Linked DNA regions of Homo sapiens: regions 1, 2, 3 and 4 are each linked to region 5. The links are contacts of gene promoters, found by promoter capture Hi-C in human tissues and cell types (Jung and others, 2019). All regions are on one chromosome and are shown on one strand. The core of a region is centred on a gene start or on the middle of the fragment in contact, and the rest is flanking DNA. Distances in the headings are between cores, read along the strand shown. Region 1 holds the start of NT5C3B (5'-nucleotidase, cytosolic IIIB). Region 2 has its middle 7.7 kb from the start of GAST. Region 3 overlaps P3H4 (prolyl 3-hydroxylase family member 4 (inactive)). Region 4 holds the start of JUP (junction plakoglobin). Region 5 holds the start of DHX58 (DExH-box helicase 58).

What was found. The method cuts DNA at HindIII sites, captures the fragments that hold promoters and counts their contacts. A contact is called where the count stands out against the background at its distance.
Region 1: the fragment with the promoter of NT5C3B here is called in contact with the fragment with the promoter of DHX58 in region 5 in 1 of the 25 tissues and cell types used here (IMR-90 fibroblasts).
Region 2: a fragment that was not itself captured here is called in contact with the fragment with the promoter of DHX58 in region 5 in 1 of the 25 tissues and cell types used here (IMR-90 fibroblasts).
Region 3: a contact is called between a fragment that was not itself captured here and the fragment with the promoter of DHX58 in region 5, in 1 of the 25 tissues and cell types used here (H1 embryonic stem cells).
Region 4: a contact is called between the fragment with the promoter of JUP here and the fragment with the promoter of DHX58 in region 5, in 2 of the 25 tissues and cell types used here (lymphoblastoid cells and stomach).

The regions. Positions count from the first base shown.
Region 1 is chr17:41,834,982-41,838,587 of GRCh38, forward strand. NT5C3B (5'-nucleotidase, cytosolic IIIB) reads right to left here and starts at 1,251. Exons shown (of 9, transcript NM_052935.5): 1 at 1,201-1,251; 2 at 878-976; 3 at 222-291; 4 at 89-135. The coding sequence starts at 1,212. It overlaps KLHL10 (kelch like family member 10), which reads left to right and starts at 2,844. Exons shown (of 5, transcript NM_152467.5): 1 at 2,844-3,145. The coding sequence starts at 2,952. RefSeq lists silencers at 735-844, 975-1,354 and an enhancer at 1,775-1,854. The HindIII fragment of the contact is 24,571 bases long and covers 1-3,606 here.
Region 2 is chr17:41,702,885-41,706,448 of GRCh38, forward strand. No RefSeq gene overlaps it. Among named protein-coding and RNA genes, the nearest start is that of GAST, 7.7 kb to the right of the region's middle. RefSeq lists an enhancer at 2,168-2,960. The HindIII fragment of the contact is 6,214 bases long and covers 1-3,564 here.
Region 3 is chr17:41,804,023-41,807,498 of GRCh38, forward strand. P3H4 (prolyl 3-hydroxylase family member 4 (inactive)) reads right to left here. Exons shown (of 8, transcript NM_006455.3): 6 at 2,774-2,857. Among named protein-coding and RNA genes, the nearest start is that of P3H4, 6.2 kb to the right of the region's middle. The HindIII fragment of the contact is 7,644 bases long and covers 1-3,476 here.
Region 4 is chr17:41,785,091-41,788,557 of GRCh38, forward strand. It overlaps JUP (junction plakoglobin), which reads right to left and starts at 1,621. Exons shown (of 14, transcript NM_002230.4): 1 at 1,498-1,621. RefSeq lists silencers at 913-1,125, 1,290-1,589. The HindIII fragment of the contact is 40,774 bases long and covers 1-3,467 here.
Region 5 is chr17:42,110,821-42,114,791 of GRCh38, forward strand. It overlaps DHX58 (DExH-box helicase 58), which reads right to left and starts at 1,894. Exons shown (of 14, transcript NM_024119.3): 1 at 1,785-1,894; 2 at 1,293-1,385; 3 at 905-1,073; 4 at 476-677; 5 at 1-93. The coding sequence starts at 1,072. KAT2A (lysine acetyltransferase 2A) reads right to left here. Exons shown (of 18, transcript NM_021078.3): 14 at 3,670-3,784; 15 at 3,538-3,574; 16 at 3,399-3,462; 17 at 3,180-3,264; 18 at 2,291-3,022. The coding sequence ends at 2,829. RefSeq lists enhancers at 1,402-1,501, 1,742-2,261. The HindIII fragment of the contact is 12,117 bases long and covers 1-3,971 here.

The DNA of each region.
Region 1 (3,606 bases), core at 1-2,500, 280 kb before region 5:
CTCTATACTGGAATCTTTGGTTCCAATCAGGAACCATTTGAAGTAGCAAATGACAACCATTTCTGAGCAAAGGACGGGAGCAACCCACCTCTTTCCGACACTCCTCACTGATGATCTTGCTATTATCCAGAATATCTGGAAAAAGAGAAAACTCCTTTTACTTGTCCCTTAGAACCCATCGTCTTGTCAAGCTCAACAAGGGAAGCTAGAATGTGACTTACTGTAAGAAGAAGGGCATCGCTTTCCATTATATGCAAACCTGCTCAAGGTCATGTCAAAATCAGAAATCACCTATAAGGCAAAAGAGAGATGATGCCTAAATAGGCACCAGAATTCTAGTGTGGCCCTGCCTCAGCCTGGGGGATGATTATGGAAATCAATACAGCTCAGTGGCCAGGATGTAGGCAAAGCCCTAGGGGAGTTACCGAGTGACACAGAGGGATAGAGGGGAAGTGATCCTAATTAGTACCCGTTAACCCTGAGGAAAACGCAGTCTCCTAGTGTGGGGGCAAGGGTGAATACTCAGGACCCCTCTGACTCCTTCAATATCAGGTCCCTCCTAAGAGATCTCTACCATTACGGCCCATCTGGACATCTTCAACTTACTGGGGAGCCGCTGGCTTGGGGAGGATAAGGCCCTAGGTACTGGTGTGGGCGCCTTCTGTCCAATTAGAGGAAGCAGCATGACCATATTGAGAAATCTGAAATTTGGGTTTTAGGACAGGCGAACCAACCCGCTCTCCTTCAAGCTCCCGGCCATTTCTTGGGGCAGAGAGCTAGGAGGGGTCCGCGGCAGAGCAAAGCGGGAAGGCCCAATGGGCAGGAAGCCTCTCCAGCCGCCCCCAGCCCGGCCGGCCCCCGCACGCCCCAGAGGTACCTGTAACCGGTCTCCGCCGCCCTTGCGGAGGGCGCCCACGATCTCCTGCACCCGCCCAGGCTGCCGCATCAGGACCGTGGCCTTCATCAGGGTGCTCACCTGTCCCGAGACCCGAGAGAACCACTGACCCCTGCGCCACGCTGGGCCCGAGGGGAGCCCGGGGCTCGCTCGGGCGCGCGTGTGAGGCGGGGCCGGGGTGCGCGAGGGGGCGGCTACTGGCCTGGGTGAAGCGGCGGTGCCTCGGTGACCAGCTGGGGGGCTCGAAGCGCCCCGGGGGTCGGAGTCCGGGCCCGCCCCACTCCGGACGCTTCCTCCCTCCTCACCTCCTCTGCCATCCCGTTCGAGGCCTGGTCGGCGGCTCGCGGGACAACGACAGCCCCGCGACCGCACTGCGCAGGCGTCGCCTCCCGCCTGGAGCCCGGGCGGGGGTTGGTGGGGCCGGGGGCGGGGCGGGGGTGGGGCCGAGAATCGAGCGGTCCCGGAGATGGCCGCGATCCGGGTGGGCTTGCCGGTTGCGCTAGGCAAACTGGAGGAGGGTTCTATTTATTATGAAGAGCAGGGTGAAGGTCCCAAGGTGTTGGGGTTACGTGGGTAGGTAGGGTTCTGCCACTCTTTGTGGAGGAAAAGCCTTGCCAAACGTGGTCATTTCCAGGCTGAAAGTTTGTGACAAAAACATGACTGGGGCTGGGCGCGGTGGCCCATACCTGTAATCCCAGGACTTTGGGAGGCCGAGGCAGGATGATCGCTTGAGCCGAAGAGTTCGAGACCAGCCTGGGCAATATGACGAAACCCTGTCTCTACAAAAAATACAAAAATTAGCCGGGCATGGTGACACGCACCTGTTGTAGTCCCAGCTACTCGGGAGGCTGAGGCACGAGGATCACTTGAGCCCGGGAGATCCAGGCTCCAGTAGGCCGAGATCATACCACTGCACTCCACCCTGGGTGACAGATGACACCCTGTCTCAGAAACAAAAACAGAAAAACCACACGGCTGGATGGGAGGAGAGATGAAGGAGCCATAAACTGAATTCTGTTAATCACCCAGAAAGGGCTCTGTTAACTAGGCCATTCCTCATTCCAGAAGAAACTGAGTGACTAACCCATCCAGCGGGCTGGGAGACCCGGGACAGCTTTCTGAAATGTAATCAGCGTTGGCTGGGCACGGTGCGGAGCACTTGTAATCCCAGCTATTCAGGAGGCTGAGGTGGGAGGATCACTTAAGCCCAGGAGGTCGAGGCTGTAGTGAGTTATGATCACACCACTGCACTCCAGCCTGGGTGAGAGAGCGAGACCCGTCCCTAGAAAAAGAAAGATTTTTTTTTTGAGATGGAGTCTCACTCTGTCGCCAGGCTGGAGTGCAGTGGAGCGATCTCGGCTCACTACAACCTCCATCTCCTGGGTTGAAGCGATTCTCCTGCCTCAGCCTCCCAAGTAGCTGGGACTACAGGCATGTGCCACCACGCCCAGCTAATTTTTGTATTTTTAGTAGAGACGAGGTTTCACCATGTTGGCCAGGATGGCCTTGATCTCTTGACCTTGTGATCCATCCACCTCGTGCTGGGATTACAGGTGTGAGCCACTGCGCCCGGCCTAAGAAAGAAATTTAATCAGTTTTACTTCTCCCTTCAGCCTCAATTGACTTGGATTTCCTTGAGTTCGGTGTCTAGGGAGCCAAGTGTTGGGCTGTGGAAGGTAGATGAATGCTCCAGGGATAGAGACCTGTATCAGGTGAGTAACAGGAGCTGGAATCAATAAACACTCAGATGGTGCTAGTGGTCATGGTTCTGTTTTGGGTTCAAGGACACAGAAGGAGGTGTGAGGTGGTTTTCAGCCTAAGTGGGGTGGTAAGGAGGGGAGAAGGAAGAGGACAAGTCCAGGAGGCAGTTCCAGAACCTGAGAGCACAATCCTGTGTGATCTCACTGCAGGGCCAGGATTCTGGAACTTGGGTTGCCTGATAGACCCTATACAAAAGATGTAGTAGGGAAAAGGAGCGACAGCTGGCTAAAGGGGCCCCCCACAACCCTCCCCGACACCCTAGGAAAGCAGCCTCTCTCCGCTGTCCCAGGGTGCCATGGAGATGGAGAGCGCGGCGGCCTCCACACGTTTCCACCAGCCTCACATGGAGAGGAAGATGAGTGCGATGGCCTGTGAGATCTTCAACGAGCTTAGACTAGAGGGCAAGCTCTGCGACGTGGTCATCAAGGTCAATGGCTTTGAGTTCAGTGCCCATAAGAACATCCTCTGTAGCTGCAGTTCCTACTTTAGGTATAACAGGGTTGCCAAATTCAGCCAAAGGGGTAATTGGGCTCATTTTGAGACACTTTGATCCATTTTCTGTTTCCCACCCCATCACCTTAACTTTAGGGACACTGTCAAAGCTCTGGGCTCCTTAAAAATTAAAAAAAAATTTTTTTTTTAGAGATAAGCTCTCATTCTTTCACCCAGGCTGGAGTGTAGTGATGCAATCATAGCTCACTGCAGCCTTCAACTGCTGGGCTCAAACAATCCACCTACTCCAGCCTCCCAAGTAGCTAGGTCTACAGGCACATGCTGCTACGTCCGGCTACTTTTGAAATGTTCTGTAGAGAGGGAGTCTCGCTATGTTGCCCAGGCTGGTCTTGAACTCCTGGCCCAAAGCGATCCTCCTGCCTCAGTCTCCCAAAGTGCTGGGATTACCACTGTGCCTGGCCAACTCTGGTCCAGGCAGGAGCTCCTGCCTGGCTCCT
Region 2 (3,564 bases), core at 298-2,797, 410 kb before region 5:
TCTCTAAATTAATAAATAAGATTTGGCACCATTTCTTTGTTTTGTTTTGTTTTGTTTTGTTTTGTTTGAGATAGTCTCACTCTTGTCACCCAGGCCAGAGTGCAATGGCGCAATCTCAACTCACTGCAACTTCCACCGCCCAGGTTCAAGCAATTATTCTGCCTCAGCCTCCCGAGTAGCTGGGCTTACAGGCACGCGACACCATATTCAGCTAATTTTTTGTATTATTAGTAGAGACGGGGTTTCACCATGCTGGCCAGGCTGAGGCAGAAGAATCACTTGAACCCGGGAGGCGGAGGTTGCAGTGAGCCAAGATCGTACCACTGCACTCTAGCCGGGGCAACAGAGTGAGACGCTGTCTCGAAAAAAAATAAAATAAAATAAAAAATAAATAAAAATATAAAAATTAGCCGGGTGTGGTGGTGAGCACCTGTAATCCTAGCTACGCGAGAGGCTGAGGCAGGAGAATCGCTTGAACCCTGGAGGCGGAGGTTGCAGTGAGCCGAGATCGCGCCATTGCACTCCAGCCTGGGCAACAAAAGCGAAACTCTGTCTCAAAAAAAAAAAAAAAAAAGGCCGGGTGCAGTGGCTCACACTTGTAATGCCAGCACTTTGGGAGGCCGAGGCGAGTGGATTGCCTGAGGTCAAGAGTTCGAGACCAGCCTGGCCAACATAGTGAAACCCCGTCTCTACTAAAAATACAAAAAATTTGCTGGGCGTGGTGGCAGGCACCTGTAATCCCAGCTACTTGGGAGGCTGAGGCAGAAGAATCACTTGAACCCAGGAAGCGGAGGTTGCAGTAAGCTGAGATCCTGCCATTGCACTCCAGCCTGGGCAACAGAGCGAGACTCTGTCTCAAAAAAAAAAAAGAATGAAGTTCTGATGTATACTACAACATGAATGAATCACAAATGCATCATGCTAAGTAAAATAACCCATACACAAAAGGCCGTATATTGTATGATTCCAATTAAATGAAAGTCTCAGAATAGGCAAATTCTTGGAGACAGAAAGTAGATTTGTGGTTTCCAGGGAAAAGGGGGAATGAGGAATGACTGCAAATGGGTGTGGGGTGATGAAAGTGTTCTGAATTAGATAATGGTGATAGTTGCACAAATGTGTGAACTAAAAGCCACTGAAGCTGGGCTTGGTGGCTTGCATCTCCAGTCCTAGCTACTTGGGAGGCTTAGGTGGGAGGATCATTGAGCCCAGAAGTTAGAGAATAGCCTGTGCAACACAGCAAAAAACCTGTCTTTGGCTGGGCACAGTGGCTCAAGTCTGTAATCCCAGCACTTTGGGAGCCCAATGCAGGAGGATCACCTGAATTCAAGACCGGCCTAGGCAATATAAGAAGACCCCAGCCAGGCGCAGTGACTCACGCCAGTAATCCCAGCACTTTGGGAGGCCGAGGCGGGCAGATCACTTGAGGTCAGAAGTTCGAGACCAGCCTGACCAACACGGTGAAACCCCATCTCTACTAAAAATACAAAAAATTAGCCAGATGTGGTGATGGGCGCCTGTAATACCAGCTACTTGGGAGGCTGAGGCAGGAGAATCACTTGAACTCGGGAGGTGGAGGTTGCAGTGAGCTGAGTTCATACCACTGCACTCCAGCCTGGGTGACAGAAGAAGACTCCGTCTCAAAAAAAAAAGAAAAAGAAAAAGAACTTGTCTCAAAAAGAAAGTAAATAATATAAAAGCCACTGAAGTGTATACTTTCAAAGGGCAAAAGGTATGGTATATAAACAATATCTAAATAAATGGCTTTTTTTTTTTTTTTTGGAGACAGTCTCACTCTGTTGCCCAGGCTGGAGTGCAGTGGTCTGATCTCGGCTCACTGCAACCTCTACCCCCTGGATTCAGGCAATTCTCCTGCCTCATCCTCCTGAGTAGCTGGATTACAGGCATGCGCTACCACTCCCAGCTAATTTTTGTATTTTTATTGGAGACGGGGGTTTCACCATGTTGGCCATGCTGGTCTCGAACTCCTGTTCTCAAGTGATCTGCCTGCCTCAGCCTCCCAAAGTGCTGGGATTACAGACATGAGCCACTGCGCCTGGCTAAATGGCTTATTTAAAAAAAAAAAAAAAAAAAAAAAAAGAATTGCATCATTTCCAAAGCTGGCTGGGTGGGCACATTATGAGCAGGGGTGTTGCCCTTGCCACATGGCAGCATCTCTCTGGCTCGTGGACAGAAATGACCTCTGCCGTCTGCCAGGGATCATTTGGAATCAGGTGGGTTTATATATGCAGCAAAACTTCAGTAAAGCTTGAAGAAACGCACTGATCCTTCTACCTTCTCTGAAATAACGTTCTCAATAGCGAGGTCATAGGCATAACCAGCCATCCAAACCTCCCCCATGGCCCCTTGAGCCCACCATGTGTCACTCCAACCCACCCCACTCCTGGGCTCAATAGACAACAAAGAAAAGGGAAGAGAAAGAACAAAGACCCCCCTCGATCACCATTGTGTCCCCAGGGTCAGAACAGTGCCTGACACAAAGCAGGCACTTGGAAAATTTGTGTTGAGTAAACAGATGCATGGATGAATGAGTGAATGAAAGAGTGAAAGCACACGGTCTCTAAGCAGGCAGGAGGGTCTGGGATGATGGGCCCTGGTGGAGGGGCTGACACTGAATGGGGTGACAGAACCTCCAGCGATGGAGGAAAGGAGGAAAGGACGGAAGCGGGACTTAGGCAGCTGTGTTCACGGTGGGGAAAAGGGGGCTGACGTCAAATGACCTTGGGAATGAAAGAGAAATGATTCACCACAGTTGCCAGTAACAACCAAGCTGCAGAATATTAATTTGCAATTGAATCAACTGGTCACTTTCGGAAACTTCCTGTCGGTTTTTGCAGGGAGTGGCAGGAGCTGAGGAAGGGGTCGGGGTGGCCTGTCAGGGACCTGGGACCAGCCTGGCAGGTTCAGAAGCAGGACAGGGGCAGCAATCTATGTGCATCACACAGAACTGAGATGACAAACCCTGGGAGGGGTAGGCGGGCTGGGAGGAGCCAGACAGTGGAGGAGCTGGAGGTCACAGTGAAGACAGATTCAGCAGGAGCGAGGCTTCTGGAGAGGGTGGGATGGGAAGCTGTGGGCCGAGAAGAGGCAGCAGCACATGGAGTCCAAGACCCGGGGGTTCCCCAACTCAGCTCCCTCACCTCCTACCTGTTGGGCCGGGGATGAGCCATTCAGCCTGGAACACACCCGAATAAAGACTCCTCTCATCCTCTCACAGAGGGGCCTTTAGGATTATTTTTCCCAGTTAAAACCACTGTTAGGCCAGGCGTGGTGGCCCATGCCTATAAATCCCAGGGCTTTGGGAGGCCAGGAGGGAGGATCACTTGAGGCCAGGTGATCCAAATACAAAGCCTGGGCTGAGAACCACTGCTTCGAAGGCACAGGTGGGCATCAGAGGAGAAAAGGAGAGAGGAGGCTCAGGAGAGAAGCGGAAGCCAGAGTAAGGGTAGCCACTACTCTCTGTCCTTGACAGCCCAGCCTGGGCCCAGGGGTGGTGGGCAGCCTCTCCAGCCCAGTCTGCAAGCAGCTTGCAGGCTGCCCTCT
Region 3 (3,476 bases), core at 374-2,873, 310 kb before region 5:
CTCACTGCAAGCTCTGCCTCCTGGGTTCACGCCATTCTCCTGCCTCAGCCTCCCCAGCAGCTGGGAATATAGGCGCATGCCGCCACTCCTGGCTAATTTTTTGCATTTTTAGTAGAGACCGGGTTTCACCGTGTTAGCCAGGATGGTCTCAATCTTCTGACCTCGTGATCCGCCCGCCTTGGCCTCCCAAAGTGCTGGGATTACAGGTGTGAGCCACCGTGCCCCGCCAGGACCATGACTTTCACTAACTTACTCCAGCCCCTAGTCTGGTGTCTGGCAAACCACAGGAAATAAGAGACAGCCGTCAAAATGGCTGCCATACGCCAGGCGTGGTGGCTCACACCTGTAATCCCAGCACTTTGGGAGGCTGAGGTCGGTGGATCATTTGAGGTCAGGAGTTCAAGACCAGCCTGGTCAACATGGTGAAACCCCATGTCTCTACTAAAAATACAAAAATTAGCTGGGTATGGTGGCACACGCCTGTAATCCCAGCTACTCAGGAGGCTGAGGCAGGAGAATCGCTTGAACCTGGGAGGCGGAAGTTGCAATGAGCTGAGACTGCACCACTGCACTCCAGCCTGGATGACAGAGTGAGACTCGGCTGTCATTCACTGTGCACCTACCAGGTACTGGCTCTTTATCAAGTGCTTTACATACTTGATCTCAGCCAGGAGCGGTGGCTCACGCCTGTAAACCTAGCACTTTGGGAGGCCGAGGCAAGCGGACCACTTGAGGTCAGGAGTTTGAGACCAGCCTGGCCAACGTGGTGAAACCCTGTCTCTACTACAAATACAAAATAAAATTGGCTGGACATGGTGGCGCATGACTGTAATCCCAGCTACTCGGAGGCTGAGACAGGAGGATCTCTTCAACCCAAGAGGTGGAGGTTGCAGTGAGCAGAGATCGCACCACTGCACTCCAGCCTGGGTGACAGAGTGAGATTCTGTCTCCAAGAAAAAAAAAAGAAAAATGCATACTTGAGGCCGGGTGTGGTGGCTCACACCTGTAATCCCAGCACTCTGGGAGGCCGAGGTGGGTGGATCACAAGGTCAGGAGATCGAGACCATACGGGGTAACATAGTGAAACCCCATCTCTACTAAATATACAAAAAAAATTAGCCGGGCGTGGTGGCAGGCGCCTGTGGTCCCAGCTACTTGGGAGGCTGAGGTAGGAGAATGGCGTGAGAACCTGGGAGGCGGAGCTTGCAGTGAGCTGAGATCACGCCACTGCACTCCAGCATGGGCGACAGAGCGAGACTCTGTCTCAAAAACAAACAAACAAAAAAACATACTTGATCTCACTTAATTCTTTCTCTTTTTTCGAGACAGAGTCTCAATCTGTCACCCAGGCTGGAGTACAGTGGCGCGATCTCGGCTCACTGCAACCTCTGCCTCTGGTTCAAGCCATTCTCCTGCCTCAGCCTCCCCAGTAGCTGGGATTACAGGTGCCCACCACCACACCTGAGTAATTTTTGTATTTTTAATAGAGACAGGGTTTCACTATGTTGGCCAGGCTCGTCTTGAACTCCTGATCTCAGGTGATCCCTCTGCCTCGGCCTCCCAAATTGCTGGGATTACAGGCATGAGCTACCATACCCGGCCAGATCTTGTGTTATTCTCACCACAACAATGTGAGATGGGCATGATTCTCCCCATTCAATGGATGAAGAAACAGAAGCTTGAGAGGTTGCCTGACACTTGTTTGGAGGCCACCCAACTGGTAAGTAATGGAGCCAGGTCTGGCTAGTTCCTCATCCTGGGTGCTGACGGTGTAGATTCTGCCCTCCTCCTCTGGGGTTGGATGGGTGGGGGCGTGGGGGCATGAACAAAGGAGAGGATACATAAATGAGCACTGAGCAGCAACACCTCAGAGAAATTAAGGCTGTCAAACCCTCACTTGAAATCAATGTTAATAGGGCCGGGTGCGGCTGCTCACGCCTGTAATCCCAGCACTTTGGGAGACCGAGGCAGATAGATCATGAGGTCACGAGGTCGAGACCAGCCTGACCAACACGGTGAAACACTGTCTCTACTAAAAATACAAAAATTAGCCAGGCGTGGTGGTGCACGCCTGTAATCCCAGCTACTCCGGAGGCTGAGGCAGGAGCATCGTGTGAACCCGGGAGGCAGAGGTTTCAGTGAGCTGAGATGACACCACTGCACTCCAGCCTGGGCGGCAGAGCGAGACTCCATCTCAAAAAAAAAAAATAAATAAATAAATAAAATAAATCAATGTAATACAATACGGTCCTTCTGTCCTGAGGTCCTGCATTCATTCATTCACTGGTTCATTCAAACTCAGTTTCTGAGCCCAGGCTCTGTGCAGGATGTGGGAGAACAGGGAATAATGTGGCCCTGTGTCCTGCAGTGCGGTTCTCCTGGATACTGGCTGGAGAAGGGGCCCAGGGCTGAGATGGACGAGGGCTGCAATCACCCAGGTCCAGGCCACAGGTGGCCAGGGAGGCACACAGGTCAGAGTGGGCACTGCTAGCCCAGAACAAAGAGCCAGGGCATGCAGCAAGGGCTTCCTGGAGGAGGCACCATGTGAGCTGGGCCTGGGAGGAACAGGATTGAGACATGTACAAAAGGAGGACATGAGAATACTAAGGCTGGGGAAGGAACGGACAGTCTAGACAAGGAACAGGCAAACCTCTCTTCTTCACGACAGCTGACCACCAGGGGCTGGGGCTGAATTCTGGCACACTGGTGGCCCCAGGAAAAGGTCCAAGGTGTCCCCATCACAGCCCAATCCTGGAAAGCAGGAGGCACTCACCTCATCATCTGACTGCAGGTACATGTGGGTGAACTCCAGCAGCTCCCGCAGCTCGGCGGTCTGGTTGTGGTAGAGCATGGCCTCCTGGAAGGAGGGAAGGACGGGGTGGGGGGTGAGCCATACCCTGTTGCCAGATGGCAAGAAGCCAGGGCTCCTAGGATCTGGGCCCACTGGCCCTCTTCTAGCTCAAGGATCAGAGAATAGGTATCAGCTCACAAGCTCATCAGATCATCGTGGCTGCTTGGAACACTGGGTTAAGGATTCTGAGAGTTTGGTGACAAAGAGTCCCTCAATCGATTAGCAATGTCTGCCACTGACAAGGAAGGCAGGAGTGGCACCATGTGCCCCATATTTGCCAGCCTGGCCCTCAACTCCAACAGATTTCCTCCATTGGTTACCTAGGGTGTTCCTGGGAAAGAGGGACAAAGGTCAGCAGTGAGGGTAATGAAGGTAGGGAGGGGAGCAGGTAGGAGTGGATGTGTACCTTCATACCTCCCTCGTCTGGACACTGCTGGTGAGGTGGCAGTATCACTGCCATTTTGCAGGTGAGGCAATAGATTAGGAAAGGGCCATGGTCTTCCCAGGACCACACAGCAGTGGGGCTGGGCTCTGAAGCCAGGACTCTAACCTCAACTCATATTCTTTCTTTCCATTTCCCATCCTGCCTTCCATGGAAGCCAGGAGTTTATTTTTTATTATTTAT
Region 4 (3,467 bases), core at 371-2,870, 330 kb before region 5:
TTTCCCTGTCAAATTCTTTCAGGAAAGCGGGTGGGAAAGGTCTGTGCAGGCCTCCAGAAAGCATGCACCTTCACAATTCAGAAATCAAATGGAAGGCAAGTCCCACAGCCTCATGCGCTTCTGCCTCAATAACCAGCCAGCTAAGTAATGTGGGGGATGGGGTAGAGGCAAAAAAAAAAAGACAAGAACAACCACTCCCCCCACCTTCCTCAGTTTGGCCCAGCCCTGCCCCACCCCCATTCCTGGGGAGGGGGCAGAGCTTGAGAGACAACCACTTACGCAGGCCTTGTCTGAGGGGGTGTGGTGGTCCCAGGAGGCAGGAAGAGAAGGAAGAAGCTGCTTCCCCTCTCAGCACTTTCCACCCCCCACCCCGGCCCCTACCTCAGGCCCCTGGGGCCCAGCGAACAGGATGAATGTGGGGGCAGGGAAGACAGGGTCGGAGCCCAGGCACCGGCCCAGGTTCAGCCAGGGGCCGGCTGGGGGAAGGGGTTTTGCACCAGGAAGGACCCCCTAAGCCTAAAGGAAGTTTTGGGCAAGGAGACGGGAAAACCCCCAGATAAAGCTGCTGTGAATACTTCCTCCTGCAAAGTTTGTTTTGGGTGATTTTTTCCAACAATAAGAGGTTAGAGAAGACGGGTCCTGTTCCCCTACCAACACTCTGGCAGCCACAGCTACTGGAAACTGGGCCAGGTGACCCTGAATTCTTCATCCGTGCACAGACCCCACCCCCCAGACCCCAGGGCGAGCCACGGGTGCCAGACACCAGCTGGACACTGAGCCGAGCCCTGCACCCCCCAGTCACTCCATCCCACCTCCGCTGAAGAAGCCAGAGCCGGGCTCCCACCGGCGTGGAGGGAGGCGCCGCAGGTAGTATCGACGAGGCTCTGGGAGCTGGAGGGCAGGGCCTCTGGACTCCGTGCGCTCACCTGCTCGGCAGGTGGGGCCAGAGTCGCTGGGAAAATGTGCGCTCGGCCCCCACAGTTGGGCAAGCTGGGCGCAAACAATAGGGCCCCACCCAGGCCTGGGGGAGTAGGGAGGGAGGGAAAGCGAGGATGACGCGTGGGGTGGGGTGAGGGTGGCCCCAAAGAGACCAGCGGCAGCAAGTTCCCCAAACGGTAAATTCCTGACTGCAGCGTGAGCCCTGGGACGCAGTCGAAGCAGAGCAAAGTCTCCCCCGCCAGCCCAGGGCGAGAGTCAGGGACGCGGCGTCGGGCGAGCTGCGCGGGCCCCGGGGGAGGCGCGACCCCGGAGGCACCTGTCCGGATCCCTCCCCGCCTTGCTCAGATCTCTGGTTCGCGGAGCTCCGAGGCGCGCTCGGCCCGAACCGCGCGACCCCCAAGTCGCCGCGCCCAGGACCCCAGCGCGCCCCCTGCCGCCGGTGCAGGGTGGCGCTCGATGGCACCGGCCCTCACCTGCCCAGGGACGGCTGGGACCGGCCCCGCGGCCGCTCGCCACCCCTCTGTCCCCAACGATACCTGCGCCCCCGATAGCCCGCACCTGAGTATGGGGCCTGACCGGGCCGGGTCGGGGTCGGGCCGGGGTGGGAGCCGGCGCGGACAGCGAACTGAGCTCGGCGTGGTCGGGCGGCGGCTGCTCCGGACTCTGGCCAAGGCAGCAACTCAGTAACCGAACAAAAGGCGAAGAGACCTGACAGCCAAGCCACGCCCCTCGCCACCTCGAAGCTCCGCCCCTGGGGGAGACGCCCACCCTCTGGTGCGAGCTCACTGGCTATCTCGCCTGACTGTCCCGTGGAGGGGCGGAGCCTCGCCTCCAGTCCTCTTCCACGGCCGCCTCTGTTTATCCGCTTGCCATTGGCCCCGGGGACTGCCAGTCGGCTCTAGGGATGGACTCTAACTTGAGGTCTCATCCTAACATTGCATCTATTGGCAGATAGAAAGTTACTTCCTCCTGATTGGACAAGGCTCTGTCAGTAAGACTAAGGAAAAAACCAATGGAAGGGATGGGGTGTGTCTTGCCCCACCCTTGCTCTGAGCAGGTGAGACTCATTACTCTCCCCTTCCCCCTACCTGTCCAACAGGTAAGTCATAGGGATACCAAGGGAAGGGACAGACGCCTTCACCGGCCAGCCAACTCAGCGTCAGGCATGATGCTTCTTTGGGCTTATTCATCCTTGCCCCAAAGTAGTAATCACATATTTGTATAGCATTTCATAGGCTTTGTGCTGGGGTGGGATTTTTTTCCCGAAAGATGGAGTACTCCTGGGATTTAGAATTAGAAGGCCAGGTTTGGTCTTCTCCCACTTGGTATGATTTTAGGCAAGTTACTTCACCCTGTTTCTCCTCTTCTGTAAACTGGATACATTAGCCATATCTACCTCACTGGAGTATGTGGGGATTAAATGAGGTCAGGTTTGTGAAAGCACTCAGAAACTGCTAAAGGTTAGAAATTTAAATTAACGGTATGTTTTTTTTTAATTATTGTGACAGCTCTGAAAAATAGTTAGGATGAGAAAACGACCCTCATTGTAAAGATGAAGAAACCGAAGTTCAGAGAAGTCACAAAACTACAAAGTGGCACACCCCAAGCTAGAACCTCCTTCCTCTCATTTGAAGGACCATCAAACCAGCTGTTCCCCTCATGGAAGAGGAGCATAGACATAAAATGTCAAGGCAATGGGGAAGGGGCAGAGAAAAGGCACAAACACTTGGAGGAGAGACAGAACAATTAATTGGCACAAAAATACAGTATTGGTGTCAGGAGGCTTTGGTGGGCTTGGAAACATCAAGCAGCAGATCTGAAGGAAATCCAGCCCTGGCATGAAAGAAACGGGGCAGGCCAGGCGCAGTGGCTCACTCCTGTAATCTCAGCATTTTGGGAGGCAAAGGCGGGTGGATCACCTGAGGTCGGGAGTTCAACACCAGCCTGGCCAATATGGTGAAGCCCCATCTCTACAAAAAATACAAAAAGTTAGCCGAGCGTGGTGGCGGGCAACTATAATCCCAGCTGCCTGGGAGACTGAGGCAGGAGAATTGCTTGAACCTGGGAGGCGGAGGTTGCAGTGAGCCGAGACCATGTCACTGCACTCCAGCCTGGGCATGACAGAGCGAGACTCCATCTCAAACAAAAAAAAAAAAAAGAAAAGAAAAAAATAAACCGGGCAGCACACCCCTCTGCGATAGGAGAGCCTGGGGTAGAGATCAGAGAGAACTTCTCGGCCAGGCGTGGTGGCTCATGCCTGTAATCCCAGCAATTTGGGAGGCCAAGGTGGGCAGATCACTTGAGGTCAGGAGTTCGAGACCAGCCTGGCCGACATGGTGAAACCCCATCTCTACTGAAAATACAGAAATTAGCCAGGCATGGCAGCGGGCACCTGTAATGCCAGCTACTCGGGAGGCTGAGGCAGGAGAATGGCGTGAACCCGGGAGGCAGAGGTTGCAGTGAGCTGAGATCATGCCATTGCACTCCAGCCTGGGTGACAGAGTGAGACTCTGTCTCAAAAAAATAAA
Region 5 (3,971 bases), core at 644-3,143:
GGAGTTTAAGTTCTAGGTACTGGCTCATGATGACGTTGTAGACGGTGTCCTTGTGCGTGTGGTGGCACTCATCCACCACGATCAGGGAGAAGACTGAGGGCACAGGGGGGAAGGCTGTGACCTATGTTTGCAAAGCCCTTCCTCCCATCAGCTTTCAAGTAGTCCCCACAATGATGTAAGAATTCCTTCTTCCCTTCACAACCTGCAGCTGGTCCCAGGATGAGGAGCCAGGCAGGGAAGACTTCTTTCCATTTCACAGATTAGTAAACCGAGGCTCAGCTGGGGAAGGGACTGGCCTAAGATCCTACACGATAGCCCGGCCTGTTTCTACTAGAGTGCCTGCAGGGGTTTTGTGAACAGGCAACCCCTCACTCCCACTAAAACTCCCAACACCTTGACTCCAGGAGGTGCCCTGGGGTTGGCGAAAGGAGGTACCCCAGATGCGTATCTTTTTCCTCCCGGCCATGGCCCTCACCAGTGAGCTCCACGTGCTCCTCCTCCTCGGGGCTGGTCAGTGCCATCTGCAGAAGCTCTGCTGTGCAGATGAGCAGGTCATGGCACCGGGCCAGGTGGCCAAAGCCAGCACGTGGTCCCATGTCCCCACTCAGGGTTGTCACGGTCCAGCGTCCATCCAGCATGCGCCTGAACTCTTCACCATGCTGGGTCACCAGGTGCACCTGGGGGTGGAGAATGAGCTGGGAAAAGAGAGCTGAATCTGGGGCCAGGGGTAGGGAGGCGGTAAGGTGACCCGCAGGACATGGCTGGGTACTGAGCCAGGGTGGAAAGACAGGTGAGCTTAGCGATGGCCACAGCAGCTTTGGAGTTCTGGTGGGGACTGGGAGATGCCTGAAGAGCTAAGACCCTGCTTGGTGGTGGGAGAGCGGGGTAGGGACAGACCACTCACCCTGTTGACCAATACAACCACCTTGGCTCCATCCACAGTCTCTAGGTGCCGCTTGGCCACATAAGCAGCCGCCCGGGTCTTCCCGGCACCCGTGGGCAGCCAGATGATGATATTCTTGCCCTCCAGGGCAGGCATGATCACCTCCCATTGGTAGGACCGAAGCTCCATTCTGGGAATGGCAGGGGACTCAGACCCACCGACTCCTCCACCCCTCCCAACTCCTGGCCAGACCAGTCAGTACAGAGACCTCCCTTTGCCCAGGACTCCACCCCACTTGAGGGAGGTGGGGCAGGACTCCCTCAGAACCCATCAGGACCCTGCTCTGCCCAAAAGGGGGAGGCGGGAGTAACACAGGCTACACCTGCCCCCTGCCCAGCCCAGGACTCACCTGCTCTAGTAGGTAGGTCTGCCCAGGGCAGTCCCACTTAACTCAGCCTGGTGCCACTCTGCTCAGCTCAGAGACCCAAGATGGAAACTGAAACTGAGGGAAGGAGCCAGCTGAGCCGACTTAGGAATCTCCCATCCCCGCCCCAGGAAAAAGAACCAAGAGAAAAGAACCGTTTGTGCTAACAGTCATCGCCAACTGCCGTGAGTACAAACTCCGGTTAAGTACTGCTGCTGCGCCAGCGCCCTGGCAGGCATGATCACCTCCCATTGGTAGGGCCACAGCTCCATTCTGGGAATGGCAGGGGACTCAGACCCACTGGGCCCTCCACTCATCCCAACTCCTGGCCAGAGCAGTCGGTACAGAGACCTCCCTTTGCCCAGGACTCCACCCCACTTGAGGGAGGTGGGGGGGGGGACACCCTCAAAACTCATCAGAAGCCTGCTGTGGCCAAAAGGTGGGGGTGGGGGGGGGTGGGAGTAACACAGGCTACACCTGCGCCTTGCCCAGCCTGGGTCTCGCCTGCACCACCACGTAGGCCTGCCCAAGGCGGCCCTGCTTAGCTCAGCCTGGTGCCGCTGTGCTCAGCGCAGAGAGCAGAAATCAGAAATGGAAACTGAAACTGAGGGGAGGAGCCAGCTGAGCCGACTTACGAATCTCCTATCCCTGCCCCAAGAAAAAGAACCACGTGTGCTAACAGGGAAGCACTCTTTCAGTGCTACAGGATCCTCTACGCTCTGGCCCTTCTGCAGTCAGTTGTAACCACATCCACCCAGGTTAAGGTGAAGGCAGGAGGTTCTGACCCCTGCTGCCCTGGCATCTGGATCAGGAGCAGCCTGGAGGAGGGAGAGGTGGGGGGCTGCAGGCAGGTAGGACCCATCACCCCAGGAGCACAGGACCAGGCCTGAGGCTTGCTGGGGAGAGCAGCCTCCAGTTTGCAAGAGGTCCCTGGGGGCCAAGGTGAGCCTGCTAAGGCTGGGACTACACCAAAGAAACAATCACACAGAGAAATAAAAAGCTTTATTATTCCCTCTAAGGGATTAATGCCAGGGAATGAATGGTCCCCATACCCCCCACCCCTGGGGGAGACTGACAGAACAGTGCTGGACAAGGCATGGCCCCCTTCAGTTTGGGCTGAACTTCCAACCCCTGAAGCCATCACTCAAGCTAAAATGAGCAGTTCTGGTCCTCAGGGAAACAGCCACCTGGGCCAGGCCCAGGAATCCAAGCCTCCAAAGCTCTTGGGGACCAGGCCTGGGGGCCACCACGGCTGGGCAAGGTTCATCCCTGGCCACCAGCTACTCTAGAGGGGCTGGGCCCCAACCCAGGAGACCTCTCACACACAGTGAAGGCTGGGACAGAGCTGCACGCTTGGGGGTGCCTGAAGGTCCAGAAAGAGCTGCAGGATCGGGTCCGGAGGACCCTTGGCTGGAGTGTCTCAAGCTGAGTCGGGTCCGTGGGGCCAGGGCACCCCCTAAGGATCAGATCAGAATCCGAGGTGGAGACATTCCAGGTCAGGGCTGCGGCCCAAAGATGGGCCTACTTGTCAATGAGGCCTCCCTCCTTGAGCTTGAAGTAGAAGAACTTCTCCAGGGCGCTGGCACAGCGGCAGTACTCGCTGTCCGGGGGGTTGTACTCGCGACAGTTGGCGATGACCCGCTGCAGGTCGGCCACAAAGAGCTTCCGGGTCACGTAGTAGCGGCTTCGCAGCCGCTCAGTCATGGTCTTCAGGTCTGGGGCAGCAGGAGACGGAGCACAGCTTTAAGAGGCTGAAGACCACGGCAGGGCTGTCCACCAGGGTGGGCCCCCTGGGGCTGCAGGGCGCAGTGAGGGCAGGAGCAGGTGTGGGGACAGAAGAGGAGGGAAGGGGATGGAATGGAAGGTCCTCACCAATGGGGAAGCGGATGACCTCGTAGTAGTCAGGGGCCTCCGACTTCTTCACAGGCTCCATGAAGGGCCAGGCACTGGGGTGAGACTGGAGAGAAGAGCCGGGCTGGGGACAGCCCTGCTGCGCCCACGCCAGCCCGAGACCACTACCCACCCCACACTGCATCAAGAGGCCACAGCCATTGGTGCAGGGGCCCTGGAAAGGAAACCTGGTCTCCCCACCTTGATTTGGGCCAGCAGGTTTTTGAGGGTTGTGTAGAGCTGGTCGGGGTCCTTCAGCTCCTTCCTGGGGCGAGAGACACCAAGTCTGAGGCTCCAAGTCCCTCTGCCCCACCCCCAACCCGGCTCCTTTGACACTCACCCCTTCTCCTTCCCCAATGGCTTCCAGCCTGTCTCTCCTGCAAAGTGGGAAGTGGGAGAATGTCTCTAAGAATGCCAGTCCACACCCCAAGCATCGTGCCCCCACTACCCTGCAACTGAGACCCCTGCTTACGAATGCCAGGAACGCTCTCCACAGGGATCTGCCTCACGCCCTCCTTGAAGCAGCTGAGCCCCGGGTAGACCTTGCGGATCTGGGCCTGTTTGCGCTCAATCAGCTTCTTGATGATCTGAGGGAAGGAAGGGACTGAGGGGCCAACTCCAGCCCCAACAACAACCCCTCCCAGGGCCACAGTCGGAGCCACTGGCTGCACCCACCCAGCTGCAACGCCACCTAATCCAGCACCTCCCCTCATAACTTCCCCAAGGGAGCAGAGCAAGAGCCAAGATCCTGGCCTGCCCCTCCTCACTCACACA